2 separate regions of the Homo sapiens genome follow, and region 2 is linked to region 1. The links are contacts of gene promoters, found by promoter capture Hi-C in human tissues and cell types (Jung and others, 2019). All regions are on one chromosome and are shown on one strand. The core of a region is centred on a gene start or on the middle of the fragment in contact, and the rest is flanking DNA. Distances in the headings are between cores, read along the strand shown.

What was found. The method cuts DNA at HindIII sites, captures the fragments that hold promoters and counts their contacts. A contact is called where the count stands out against the background at its distance.
Region 2: a fragment that was not itself captured here is called in contact with the fragment with the promoter of NOL6 in region 1 in 1 of the 25 tissues and cell types used here (mesendoderm cells).

The regions. Positions count from the first base shown.
Region 1 is chr9:33,472,024-33,478,481 of GRCh38, forward strand. NOL6 (nucleolar protein 6) reads right to left here and starts at 1,901. Exons shown (of 26, transcript NM_022917.5): 1 at 1,766-1,901; 2 at 183-389; 3 at 1-97. The coding sequence starts at 1,819. LOC107987061 (a long non-coding RNA gene) reads left to right here and starts at 2,117. Exons shown (of 3, transcript XR_001746648.3): 1 at 2,117-2,174. RefSeq lists an enhancer at 1,513-1,852. The HindIII fragment of the contact is 8,318 bases long and covers 166-6,458 here.
Region 2 is chr9:33,791,418-33,797,465 of GRCh38, forward strand. It overlaps PRSS3 (serine protease 3), which reads left to right and starts at 4,144. Exons shown (of 5, transcript NM_002771.4): 1 at 4,144-4,196; 2 at 5,226-5,385. The coding sequence starts at 4,157. The region is part of intron 3 of UBE2R2-AS1 (UBE2R2 antisense RNA 1); the gene reads right to left. RefSeq lists an enhancer at 4,693-5,193. The HindIII fragment of the contact is 4,072 bases long and covers 2,242-6,048 here.

The DNA of each region.
Region 1 (6,458 bases), core at 651-3,150:
GCACCCTCACAACCCGCTGGTTGACCTCCCGTAGGAAGGCATCAATCCGATCCTTCTTCTTCTCTGACAGCCTTACTTCCTTTAGTAGCTCCTCTACCTGTAAGAGAGGGTAGAAGACAGTCCATCAGCCTCAGGGTCCCAGGTACACACCTCGAACAAAAGCTGCAGACACTCAACAGTACCTGTAAACGAAGCAAGCTGGAGTGGAACAAGATCTCAGTCTCCCGAAGGCGATTAAGCTCCTCATTGGTAGGCTCCTTGTACAGTTCTGCCCTGCTGAGCTTCACTGGCTGCAGGAGGCCCTTCGCTGGAGGTTCAGCCAATGTACGCTTCCTGGAGGATGCTTTCTTCCCCTCTTTGCCTGTGCCTTCCAGGGCTGGTTCCATCACCTGTGGCCAGTGAGGGAGAAGCCATTTTGAGGTAATAGGTATCTAGCATCTGCTGCCTAAAGTGCCACCATGATAGGTTGTGGGTAAAAGCTTCACCTGCTCTGTCCCTCTTTTGAGTAGGAGTCAGATTTTGTAAAACTCAGGAGAATCGTTACTTGGATGAACATCACTGAGCGCTGAGCCGAAAATTCCTTGAGTTAAGAGCTCTCCTGTCTACCTGACACCACAAGCATGGAGCTCTGTTTGGAATTGGTAGTGATAGAAGCTGACTGGGCCCAGGCTGGACACGGTGGCTGACGCCTGTAATCCCAGCAGTTTGGGAGGTGGAGCTGGGCGGATCAGCTGAAGTCAGGAGTTCGAAATCAGCCTGGCCAACATGGGGAAACTCCGTCTCTATTAAAAATACAAAAATTAGCCAGGTGTGGTGGCACATGCCTGTAATCTCAGCTACGCGGGAGACTGAGGCAGGAAAATCACTTGAACCCAGGAGGCAGAGGCTGAAGTGAGCCGAGATCGTGCCATTGCATTCTAGCCTGGGCAACAGAGCAAGACTGTCAAAAAAAAAAAAAAAAAAAAGAAGCTGACTGAGCCCTGCCCTAAGTAATGCCCAGGCCCCTTGTATTTTCAGGAAGTTTCCTCTTCTGCTGATATAGGCCTGGGACTTCTCAAATGTCTTTCCCATTCTCGCTCCAACCAAATCCTGCCAGGTTCCACCTCCTCTAGGAAGACCTGACTGCCTCAGTTTACACTAAATACTCACTGATGGAAGGAGCTAGAACCGACTGGACCCCAGAGGACACATTTAGCAAGTCATTAAATCCTCAAAATAATTCTTGAAGACACTTGAAGTCCCACTATTCACTCGAGGTTCCACAACTGGTACACCCGTACTATGAGCAGGCTTCAAAGGCAAGCGTGCAGGATCCCAAACCTTTTCCCCTACAGCCGTGGGCCCATCCGCTCCACGATGCCTCTCATCCCAGAGAGCCTTACTGGAGCGCTCCAGGAGAGGCACCGTATGCCCTCCGCTACAGCGGGGAGCACAGAACTGGACACAAATTCTGTGGAGGAAGATCCCGCTTATCGTCAAGGACCACCAAATAAAAGAAACGACCCAAGTGTGGGTCTCTTCAACTTTGAGGTGCAGAGCTCCAGAAGAGAGCAGAGGCTCTACCGGCTTCACTGCTTCTAACCAAATACTGCCAGGTTCCATCACCCCTAGCAAGCCCTGTCTCAGTGCCACTGGCTGGAAACATCCTCCAGAATGGGCCGCCGGCATGGCTTTCACCCGCAAGCTGTCAGATCACGCCATCTCGGGCCCTGCAGCCAAGGGAGCGCACATTGAGCCTCTGTTCCTCCCCGATGGCTCAACCCACCTCTGGCTCTCCAGTCGCTCCGCGAAGCTGCTCTCCAGCTGGCGCCGGCCCCATCACTCAGGGTCCAGCACTCTCCCGCACTTCAGATTCTAGCCGGGTCTATACCTCATAGCTTCCCACGTGGGCGGAAATGCCTAACTCCAGGCCCAAGTCCAGCCCACCCCAATTCCTCAGGACTCCACCCACTCCAGAGCTATTGGATTATCAGTCGATTACTCGCTTGCCATTGGCCGGGCAGTCTCAAGGCCCGCCCATTAGGGGAGGGGACAAACGGGTTTCTGTGCTTTACGGCCTCTTCGCGACGCTAGAACGGAAGCCTGCCCGTAGCTAGGCCTTTGCTTTCTTTTCCTCACTTCCTTCGCGTGGCTGCAATCGGGAAGGGCGGAGCTAGTTTGTTCCTTTTGGTCAGGTTTGTTTACAGCAGTTATTCCTCCCTTTTTCTTTATTTGCTACACCTTATCAGTTAACAAATCTTGTCAGTTCTACCTCCAAAACATACCTTGAATTTATTCATTTTTCTGTGTCTTCACTGCCAGGTTTAGCCCGTCACATCATCTTGTTCCCGAATTATTGTTATGACTTTTCTCCAGTTTTTACTTATTACTTAGCTTATTACAATTTCAAGTAATTTAGTTATTTTTATTTATTTATTTATTTATTTATTTATTTATTTATTTATTTATTTTTGGAGTAGTCTTGCTCTGTCGCCCAGGCTGGAGTGCAGTGGCACGATCTCAGCTCCCTGCATCCTCCCTCTCCCAGGCTCAAGCGATTCTCGTGCCTCAGCCTCCTGAGGAGCTGGGATTACAGGCAGGTACCATCACACCCGTCTAATTTTTGTATTTTCACTAGAGATGGGGTTTCCTCATGTTGCCTAGGCTGGTCTCAAACTCCTGACTGCCAGTGACCCGCCCACCTTGGCCTCCCGAAATGCTGGGATTACAGGCCTGAGCCACTGCTCCCGGCCTATTTTTAAACTATTAAAAATTTAAAACAAATGTTGCAAGAATAATATAATGAATGCGCATATACTCTTCACCTAGATTCACTTAGTGTTACTATTTTGCCAAGTTTATCTTTACCTATGTATTTACATATTATTTTGCAAAACCATTTGAAAACCAATCACACATCTCCCTAAATACTTAGGTATGTATCTACTAAGATCAAGGACTACCTCTTATGTAAGCACAGCCCGATTATGAAATTAAGGAAATTTAATCGTGATTCAATACTAGTATACAAATTCCATCTTTAAATTTTGTCAGTTATTCCAGTAATAACCGTTATATGTTTCATTTTATTTCCTAATGCAGGATCATCTAAATTCAACTATTACCATATAATATATATATATATATATATATATATATATATATATATATTTTTTTTTTTTTTTTTTTTTTTTTTTTTTGAGAGAGAGTGAGTGTCCCTCTGTTGCCCAGGCTAGAGTGCAGTGGGTCGATCTCAGCTTACTGCAACATCCACCTCCTGGTTCAATTGATTATTGTGGCTCAGCTTCCCAAGTAGCTGGGATTACAGGCATGCGCCAACACACCAGGCCAATTTTTGTATTTTTAGTAGAGACAGAGTTTCACCATGATGGCCAGCCTGATCTCAAACTCTGGCCTCAAGTGATCTGCCCTCCTCAGTCTCCCAAAATGCTGGGATTACAGGGGTGAGCCACCGTGCCCAGTCTAAAAATTTGTATTGAAGTACAATATACATAAGGAAAAATGTACATATCCCAAGTGTAAAGCTTGAATACTAACAAACCAAACATACTCATATAGTCAGCTCCCAGAAAATAAGCAGAACATTTCCTGCACCTTCAGAATCTCCCCTCATGCTGCCCTCTAGTAACTCTGCCCCCAACAATCACTATTCTGACTTCAAACAGTGCAGGTCAGTTTATACAATAGCTTTTTTATTATTTATTATTTATTTATTTATTTATTTTTTGAGACAGAGTCTCACTCTGTCGCCCAGGCCGGAGTGCAGTGGCACGATCTCGGCTCACTGCAAGCTCCACCTCCCGGGTTCAAGTGATTCTCCTGCCTCAGCCTGCCAAGTAGCTGGGACTACAGGCGCCCGCCACCACGCCCGGCTAATTTTTTGTATTTTTTAGTAGAGACGGGGTTTCACCGTGTTAGCCAGGATGGTCTTGATCTCCTGACCTCATGATCCACCCGCCTTGGCCTCTGAAAGTGCTAGGATTACAGGCGTGAGCCACCGCGCCCGGCTATGCGATAGCTTTTTAAGGAAGTTTCAGAAGAGCGGTATGTCCATTTTCAATTCATTTTCCACACAGCTGCCAGAATTAGTTTTCTAAAATAGAAATTCTATCATGTCACTTCCTTTTAAAAACTCATCAGTGTCTTCCAATTGTACTTAAAACTAAACACAAACTTCAACTTCCATAAAGTCATGATCAATATGGCCCTTCACTTGCTATTCCTTCTTTTTATTTTATTTTATTTTTTTTTTTTTGCGACAGAGTCTTGCTCTGTCACCCAGGCTGGAGTGCAGAGGTGCAATCTTAGATCACTGCAACCTCCGCCTCCCAGATTCAAGCGATTCTCTTGCCTCAGCCTCCCTAGTAGAGTAGCTGGGACTACAGGCACATGCCACCACACCCGGCTAATTTTTGTATTTTTAGTAAAGACAAGGTTTCACCATGTTGGCTAGGCTGGTCTCAAACTCCTGACCTCAAGTGATCCGCTCACCTCAGCCTCCAAAAGTGCTGGGATTACAGGGGTGAGCCACCTTGCCCAGCTATTCCATCTTTTTTGTGGGAGAAGAGGGGCAAGTTCTCGCTCTGTTGCCTAGGCTAGAATACAGTGGTGGAATCACACCTCAGCCTCCTGAGTAATTGAGACTACACACGCGCACCACCATGCCTGGCTAATTTCTGTATTTCTGTGTAGACTTTTGCCATGTTGCCCAGGCTGGTTTCAAACTCCTGAGCGCAAGGAATCTGCCGGCCTCGGCCTTCGAAAATGCTGGGATTACAGGCATCGGCCACTGCCTGGCCCTCATCATTTTTCTTGCTACTCCACCCCTGGTTCCCTGAGCTACAGCAACATCAGCTTTCTTTCAGTTCCTTCGTTGTATTAAGTTCTTTCCTAACTCCGGGACTTCACCCAAGCTGTTTGTTCCATTTGGAATTTTGCTTTCTTGGCTTTTTCTCCTTTTCATCTTTCACCTCTCAGCATAAATATCACCTCTGGACTCAAACCATCCTCCCACCCCAGCTTCCTGGCTAGCTGGGACCACAGGCGTGCACCACACACTCGACTAATTTTTTGTAGAGACAGGATTTCACCATGTTGCCCAGGCTGGTCTCAAATTCCTGGACTCAAGTGATCCTCCCACCTTGGCCTCCCGAAGTGCTAGGATTACAGGCTTGAGCCACTGTGCCCGGCCAAGGTCTTAACTAAAGTCCTAAAATATGTTCTCTAAACAAATATAGATATGTTTTCTTTCTTTTTTTTTTTTTTTTTTTGAGATGGAGTCTTTCTCTGTCACGCAGGCTGCAGTGCAGTGGCAAGATCTCAGCTTACTGCAACTTCCACCTCCCAAGTTTAAGTGATTCTCCTGCCTCAGCCTCTGGAGTAGCTGGGATGACAGCCACATACCACCACACCTGGCTAATTTTTGCATTTTTAGTAGAGTAGGCCACCATGTTGGCCAGACTGGTCTTGAACCCCTGTCCTCAAGTGATCTGCCCTCCTCTGCCTCCCAGAGTACTGGGATTACAGGCGTGAGCCACCACGCCCAGGCTGTTATGTTTTCTCTTTCTTTCTCCCTCCCTCCCTCCCACCCTCCTTCCTTTATTTTCTTTTTTCTTTTTTTTTTTTTTTTTTTTTTCTGAGACAGAGTGTTGCCCTGTCGCCCAGGCTGGAGTGCAGTGGCAAGATCTCAGCTTACTGCAACCTCTTCCACCTCCGGGGTTCAAGCAATTCTCATGCCTCAGCCTCCCGAGTAGCTGGGACTACAGGTGCACACCACCTCGCCTGGCTAATTTTTTGTATTTTAGTAGAGACAGGGTTTCACCATGTTCCCCAGGCTGGTCTTGGACTCCGAACTCAGGCAATCAGCCCACCTTAACCTCCCCAAGTGCTAGGATAACAGGCGTGACCGACCACGCCCGGCCTGGCCAATATGTTTTCTAAAACGTTTCTCTTATATCATCCATTTTCCTTTTAGTGCTTTTTACAATTTCTGGTTATCAATTGTCTCTCCTTTTGTTTTACTTTTATTTATAAATTTATTACTATTTTTTTAGAGACAGGATCTCACTGTCACCCAGGCTGCAGTGCAGTTGTAGCTCACTGCAGCTTGGGATACCTGGGCTCAAGTGATCCTCCCAAGTAGCTAGGACTACAGGTATATGCCACCATGCCCAGCTAATTTTTAAATATTTGGTAGTGGTCTTGACCTCAGAATCTCAAACAATCCTCCCTCATCAGCCTCCCAAAGCACTGGGATTATAAGCATGAGCCACTTGCCCAGCCCAGTTGTCTCTTTTTGCCCTTGACTGTGAATACGTGAAAATGAGGACCATGTGTACATGCCCAATACCTAGCACATTGTAGGTACTTAATAAATGTTTACTGAATGATTGTGACCATAGTCAATCCTTTCCGTCTTTCCTTTAACCATTGTCTCCCTCAAATTTTATGCCCCAGTT
Region 2 (6,048 bases), core at 3,028-5,527, 320 kb after region 1:
ATGACACAGTCTAGACTTTTATAAGCTAAATGAGTAGAAGGAACCCAGTTGACTGGATTTATCACCAAACCCAGCTTGTGAGCCTCAATTTAGAGCTAGTATAATTTAGAAAAATAAATACATACACCATATATTAAACTCTGAGTATCATGAAACAGATCCTAGATGTTACAATCATAAGAATCTATATGGGTGTTTCTCCTGCACTCTGTCCTGGCTTTCTTCTGCTTCCTGTCTAAGGGAGCCTGGACTCACTTAAGCAGCTCTAATAGGCCAAACAAGAGAGTGGTCAAGGAGTGGCTGAAATGTGAACAGAAAGACTCACCATTATATTACAGCAATCAATCTATCCTTAAAATAATTTAGGTTTAGTCTCAAGTGCTAGAGGCTTCCCCATTTACCCATACATGGAAGCCTGAAGAATAAACAGAACTATAAACTTCCCTCCGGGCATAAAACTTGCATGTCTTCCATGGCTTCAAGGTGGGGAGCAGCTGGGCAGGCAGAAGGAGGGGCAAGGGGCAGGCAAGAGGAGGGGCAGGAGGCAGGCAGGGAGGAATGGGCTACTCCATTTAGCTGATCAGCCTTGACCAGTTCATGCTCTGCGACTCCATATTACAAGTCAGACTTTTCTGGATCATACAGAGCACTCCCTTCACTCTCCAGATTCAGTGATTCCTGGGATGAGATAGTAACAAAAACAATTCCTTATTGGATAAAGCGAAATTGTGCCGTGGGGGAGATAAGAAGCTTAGAAAAAAAGAAAAATAATGGATGAGGAGAGGAGCTGGGAGTTTGGCGGGAAGACAGCCTAAAATCTGACAATCTGTTTGCAGAATGATAAAGGATGCTGGAACCCAAGGAGGAGTTGACTAAGAGCTTAGGAGAAAGATCTGGTGGGATTTGGAGAAGAAAGTGTTAAAAAAAAAAGAATTTGGAATCTGACACTTTTCAGACTACTATGAGGTCTGAAAGACTCATGTAGCAACGTGAAGAGGAACAAACTTTGTCTGAATAGGGAAGGTTCTAGTATGATCTTTGCTGGAGAAGTCATTTGAACTCTGAGTTTTAGATTGTTGATTTGTAAAAAGGAGAGAACAATATCTGCTGCCTACCACCTCAGTGAGGGTGCACCAAGGATCAGCTCAGAGGAGGCAAAGCAGAATGCCCTATGGCAGAGCATGGAGGCCCTAGAGTCAGACCACCATACTTACATCCCATCTTTAAAACCTACTGGCTGTGTGGCCTTGAGCAAGTCACTTTACCTCCAGAAAGCTCATTTAATCACCTGGAAAATGGGCAATCGCATAAGTGGTTGTAATGTAAAATGAAGAAAAAATTCTTAACTTATATGAGTTACATGCTGTATAGTAACATGGTATATAGTAAGCACACAGAATTGATTCACTGTTATCAAAATTGAAGGACAGTGGTTTGATGTGCTAAGCACTCAGTACAAGCCAGAAAGATGTCTTAGAGAAGAAGACAAAGAAATCTCTAGTTCAGGATGAAGAGTACCAAGAATGGCATGTCCTCCAAATTGAGCTTGGGCAGCTGGATCTGAACCTATCCTACACATCTGAGTCTACAGTATGAGGTAACAGTCTCCACCTATAGCTATCTTCTCTGCCTGTAAGGTCATTCCTTTTTGAAGAAAGCTGACCTCAGACTATACTGTGATCATTTAAGGAAGAGCGCAAAATACTGGAGAAGGCTAATCTTCAAGCTCTAGATACAGAAAATCCTCATATTCTTGGGTGTTCCTTTCAGACAGAGTCAGAGCCACAAGCACTGATCCAAAAATCCCGTTCTCCAAAAAAAGTTTCCATCTTCTGCCAAGGTTCACCTCCCTATTTAGTGCACACTGGTGTCTACAGTTGCTACAGCAAGAGCCTTTCCTTATCCTCTAAGGCAGGAGTTGTGTGAAGACCCCATGACAAGGGGACAAAATGAAACAACATGTTTAGGGGCAACACAGGAAAAACCCATATTATCAATGCTCCAAAACCTGGATACCTCAGGCTTGGCCAGTCATTTGTGAGCAGAGAGGTGTGTCATCTACATGGCAGTCATGGCCTGGATGGGTCTGGAACTGTGGCAAGGGAAGTCTCTGAGACAAGGTGCCAGGAGAAAGATGAATTCAATCATCTATTTCTGCCAGGAAGAAAAGCAGGAGGAAGGAATCAGATGCACAGTTTGTCCTCTGGGGACCTCTGCCTTGATCCTCAATAAATCTCCTTTTAGATGTCACCTGCAGCAATTCCCACAGTTCACAATGATCTCCATGGCTTCCGTTGGCCTTATGGTGAGCTCTGCCAAGATCTGTATTCTTGGGCAAGACAGAATCCTTCTGAATCTCAGTCTCTTCCTCTATAAATGGAAATAATTTTGCTCTGCACAAATCACAATTAGCATGTTTGTGGGAAGTCAAACTGTGAAACTCAGCATAACTGAAAAGCAATGTACCACTGTTGCTTATGTGAAAACTCTTGTAAAGCTGTCAGGCACCATGCACCATCTAAGTACAGCAGTGTTAGGTATGAGCCCATCAGTGATTAGAGGGGATGTGGGGTGGAGAGCGGGTCTCTGAGCAGTGGATCTCCTGGCTTTGGGGAAGCTGGCTCGTTGGCCATGCCAGGAGCTGAACCTGAAGGTACTCTGTGTGTCCTCTCAACTCCACGGGCCCCACATTCGCATTTTTTCCAATTCCCTCTGGTTTCCATTTGCTTCCTCCCTCTAGCCCCCTGGCCATGTCCGATCTCAACACGAAGTTTCTGAGCTTTTCTCATTTTGTTCACCATCTCCAGAACATCTCTGCTTCTTTTACTTTTCAAAGAATTTAAACTTGAACTCTGCTCACTCCTGCCCATCACCAACCTGAGCTCAGAGTTGCTGAGAAGGGAAAGCACCCTCATAAGGAAGCTCCTCCTTTCCTTACATCATTAGACTTGATCACAGACAGCATCTCCATCTCCACACTACTCTGGCCAGGTTGTGCCTCAGTCAATTACACAACTGTGTCTTAGTAGCCTTGGTAGGGCCCAAATCAGGATATTCTCTGGGAAGATTCACTTGATACTAAGCCCAGCATAATCTCACTGCATCTAAAATAGAAAATTCTAGACCCACCCCTCCACATCTTCTTATTGATCCCAATATGTGACCCATTTACCATGTGCTAAAATCTCTACCTACTGCTGATTCTCAGATCAGATGGTAACCCAGATTTACCATGGTCCAAACTCTGACATCTGATCAGGGGCATGTCATTCTGGTTCAGGCTGTCAGCCCTGAGCAGGTGAGTCAGTTTGCATCACCCTAAGTGCAGGTTGCCAGGACAACCGTGAGGCTGCATAAAAAGAACCTATGACAGGATGCACATGAGAGAGACAAGTGGCTTCACATTGAAGAAGGGGAGGAGTGCGCCATTGGTTTTCCATCCTCCAGATGCACTGAGTAAGCTCCTACCTAACCTGTGTCCCCTCCTTCTTTGAAACACTTCCCATCCTTTTAAGCCTTGGTAGGAAGGAGAGCCATCTGGAAGCCCAGAATCCTATGGAATGCTAAGTCTCCCTTCTCCTTACCCCTTAGTGTTGGAATTCTGGATACCCAAAGTCTTGGATTTGACCTTTGTGCACAGTGACTGCAAAGAAGCATATTCATATTCACAAAAATGAGCCTTAGATAAGACTTTCCTCCTCTCGTGGGGGCTCCAGGAAACTGAAAAGCCAAGCTTGTTACCAATGCTTGCCCTTCCTTAAGTACATTATTAAATACATCCCCAATAGTTAAAAGGACTCCTAGACACCCAGGCCATTCTCCCTCCTTCTAACCCTCATCTCCTCGGCCTACGAAAGCCCAGCTGTGTGATCCGGGGATTGGTTTCCCCTGTCTTCCCCATCCCAGCATCCTTCCAGGAAATAGCCAGTCTCCCTCTCTGCTCTCAGAAGGCAAGTTTCCTTATCACCTGTGAATCACAAACCCACAGAGTGGCCAAACGTAGCCGAGCTGATGCAAGACCCTGGCAAGGGGAAAGCTGCAGGTGTGTTTGTGCTGGGAAGAACTGTGACCCTCACCTCACAGACACCTCCTCTCCTGATTCTTGGAAGGGTATAAGGACAGGCCTTCCACCACCAGTCAGGCACACTCTACCACCATGAATCCATTCCTGATCCTTGCCTTTGTGGGAGCTGCTGGCGAGTTTCATGACCTGCCTCAGGCCCCACCCACCCCCTTTCCTGGCAGACACATGCCCTGCCATTCTTGCCACCTCTCCTCTTTTGACTGCGCTCTGATATTCTATTTCCTCCATCTGACATATCTCCTTCCCATCCTCCTTGGGCTCTCTTTAAGCCTCACCTGTTTCACCTTTTCCCTCATTTCACTCCCACCACTGTCATTCATCCATATCCGAGCTGTGGTTGGAGAAGCTGGGAAGGGAGACCAGGTGGGGCTGGCCCATGAAATGAAGTGGCAGGCTTCAGGCTTGGCTCCAAGAGCACCAGTATAGCACCACTATAGCTGCTCTTAACCTCGAATGCACCTGGGGAGGTTCAAAAATTACTCATGCCAGAGATTCAACTCTAGAAGTTCTAACTTCATTTGTCTGGGGTGCAGCCTGTGTACTGGGCTTTTAAGCTTCCCAGGTGATTTTTAACGTTTCCAGGCATGCCGCCAAAGTTAAGAATTGCTCTTCTATTGGCCAATAACAAAGTCTACCTTTGTTATGCCAAAGTGAGCCTGGGGCTGCCCTCAACTCTGCCCTCACTGCACAGATCTGAGCTATGGGGGAAGCTAGTCATGGCCAGGTCTACCCAGACAGGGGGTTTTCCTAGCTTAGCCAAAGTATCCTGACAATCCAGGGCTCAAATAGCCAGGGCAAGTACACAGGTGATGAATAAAAGAGAGAAGCACTCAGTGGGTGAGACAACAACATACCAACTGCTACCCCACTGGAAGCATTTTGAGGACATTCCTTGCATCCTCAGCCTGGTGTCCCCAGGAGAGATCTGAGCCCCTGCAGGGTACCTAGCTACGTGCCCTGCAGACACAGAGACTTGGGAGCCACATCCAGTGATGCTCACCAGGGGTGGCAGCGCTCCCTCCCTTGCCTGGCCTCACTGGGCTTGTTAAGGATTTCTAATTGGCAGGAAGCAACCGCAGGCTGGGAGCACCACCCCTAACATGCTACTGACTTGCCTTCTCCCTTCCTATTTCCACTCCAGTTGCTGTCCCCTTTGACGATGATGACAAGATTGTTGGGGGCTACACCTGTGAGGAGAATTCTCTCCCCTACCAGGTGTCCCTGAATTCTGGCTCCCACTTCTGCGGTGGCTCCCTCATCAGCGAACAGTGGGTGGTATCAGCAGCTCACTGCTACAAGACGTAAGTGTGGGGCCCCTGACTGCAAAGCTCCCAGCCAGGCTGCCTGGGAGAGCTTGGCTTCAGCCCAGGGAAGTACTGAGGTTGGGTAAGACGGATGGGAGAGGTGGTGGAAAAGAAAACTTGTTGACAGCAGCTGACTCTCCAGAGCAAGGCCAATCCATGAAACAGCAAGGGTTGTGGTCATAAAAGCAGGCAGGGATAATCTTGGAGTTGTCAGAGCTAGTGACAAAAGCAGGCAAGTACCTTTTGCTGGTTAGCTACACATTAAAGCGACCTAAGACAGAGTTTTTGAAAATACTGATGCCTGTGTCCTACCCCAGGGCAATTAACTCAAACTTCTCAGGAAGACAGTGTGAATACCAGTGAGTATTTAACACTCTACCTCTGGTAACTGTAGAGTGTATAGACAGAGCTGAGAACCGCTGCCTACACGAAGAACTCTCAAACCTGAGTATGCGTCAAAACCACCTGCAGGCTTATTAAAGCACAAATCACTGGGTCCCATCCCCAAGGTTCTGATCAGCGGGTGGGGGTAAGGACCAAGAATTTACATTTCTAACAAGTTCCCAGGAGATGCTAATGCTATGGCTACCCTTGGATTAGATTACACAGAAGGGTGGTGCTCACTAGGCCAAGAAGGGAGGGAGGAACAGGCGCTGTGCG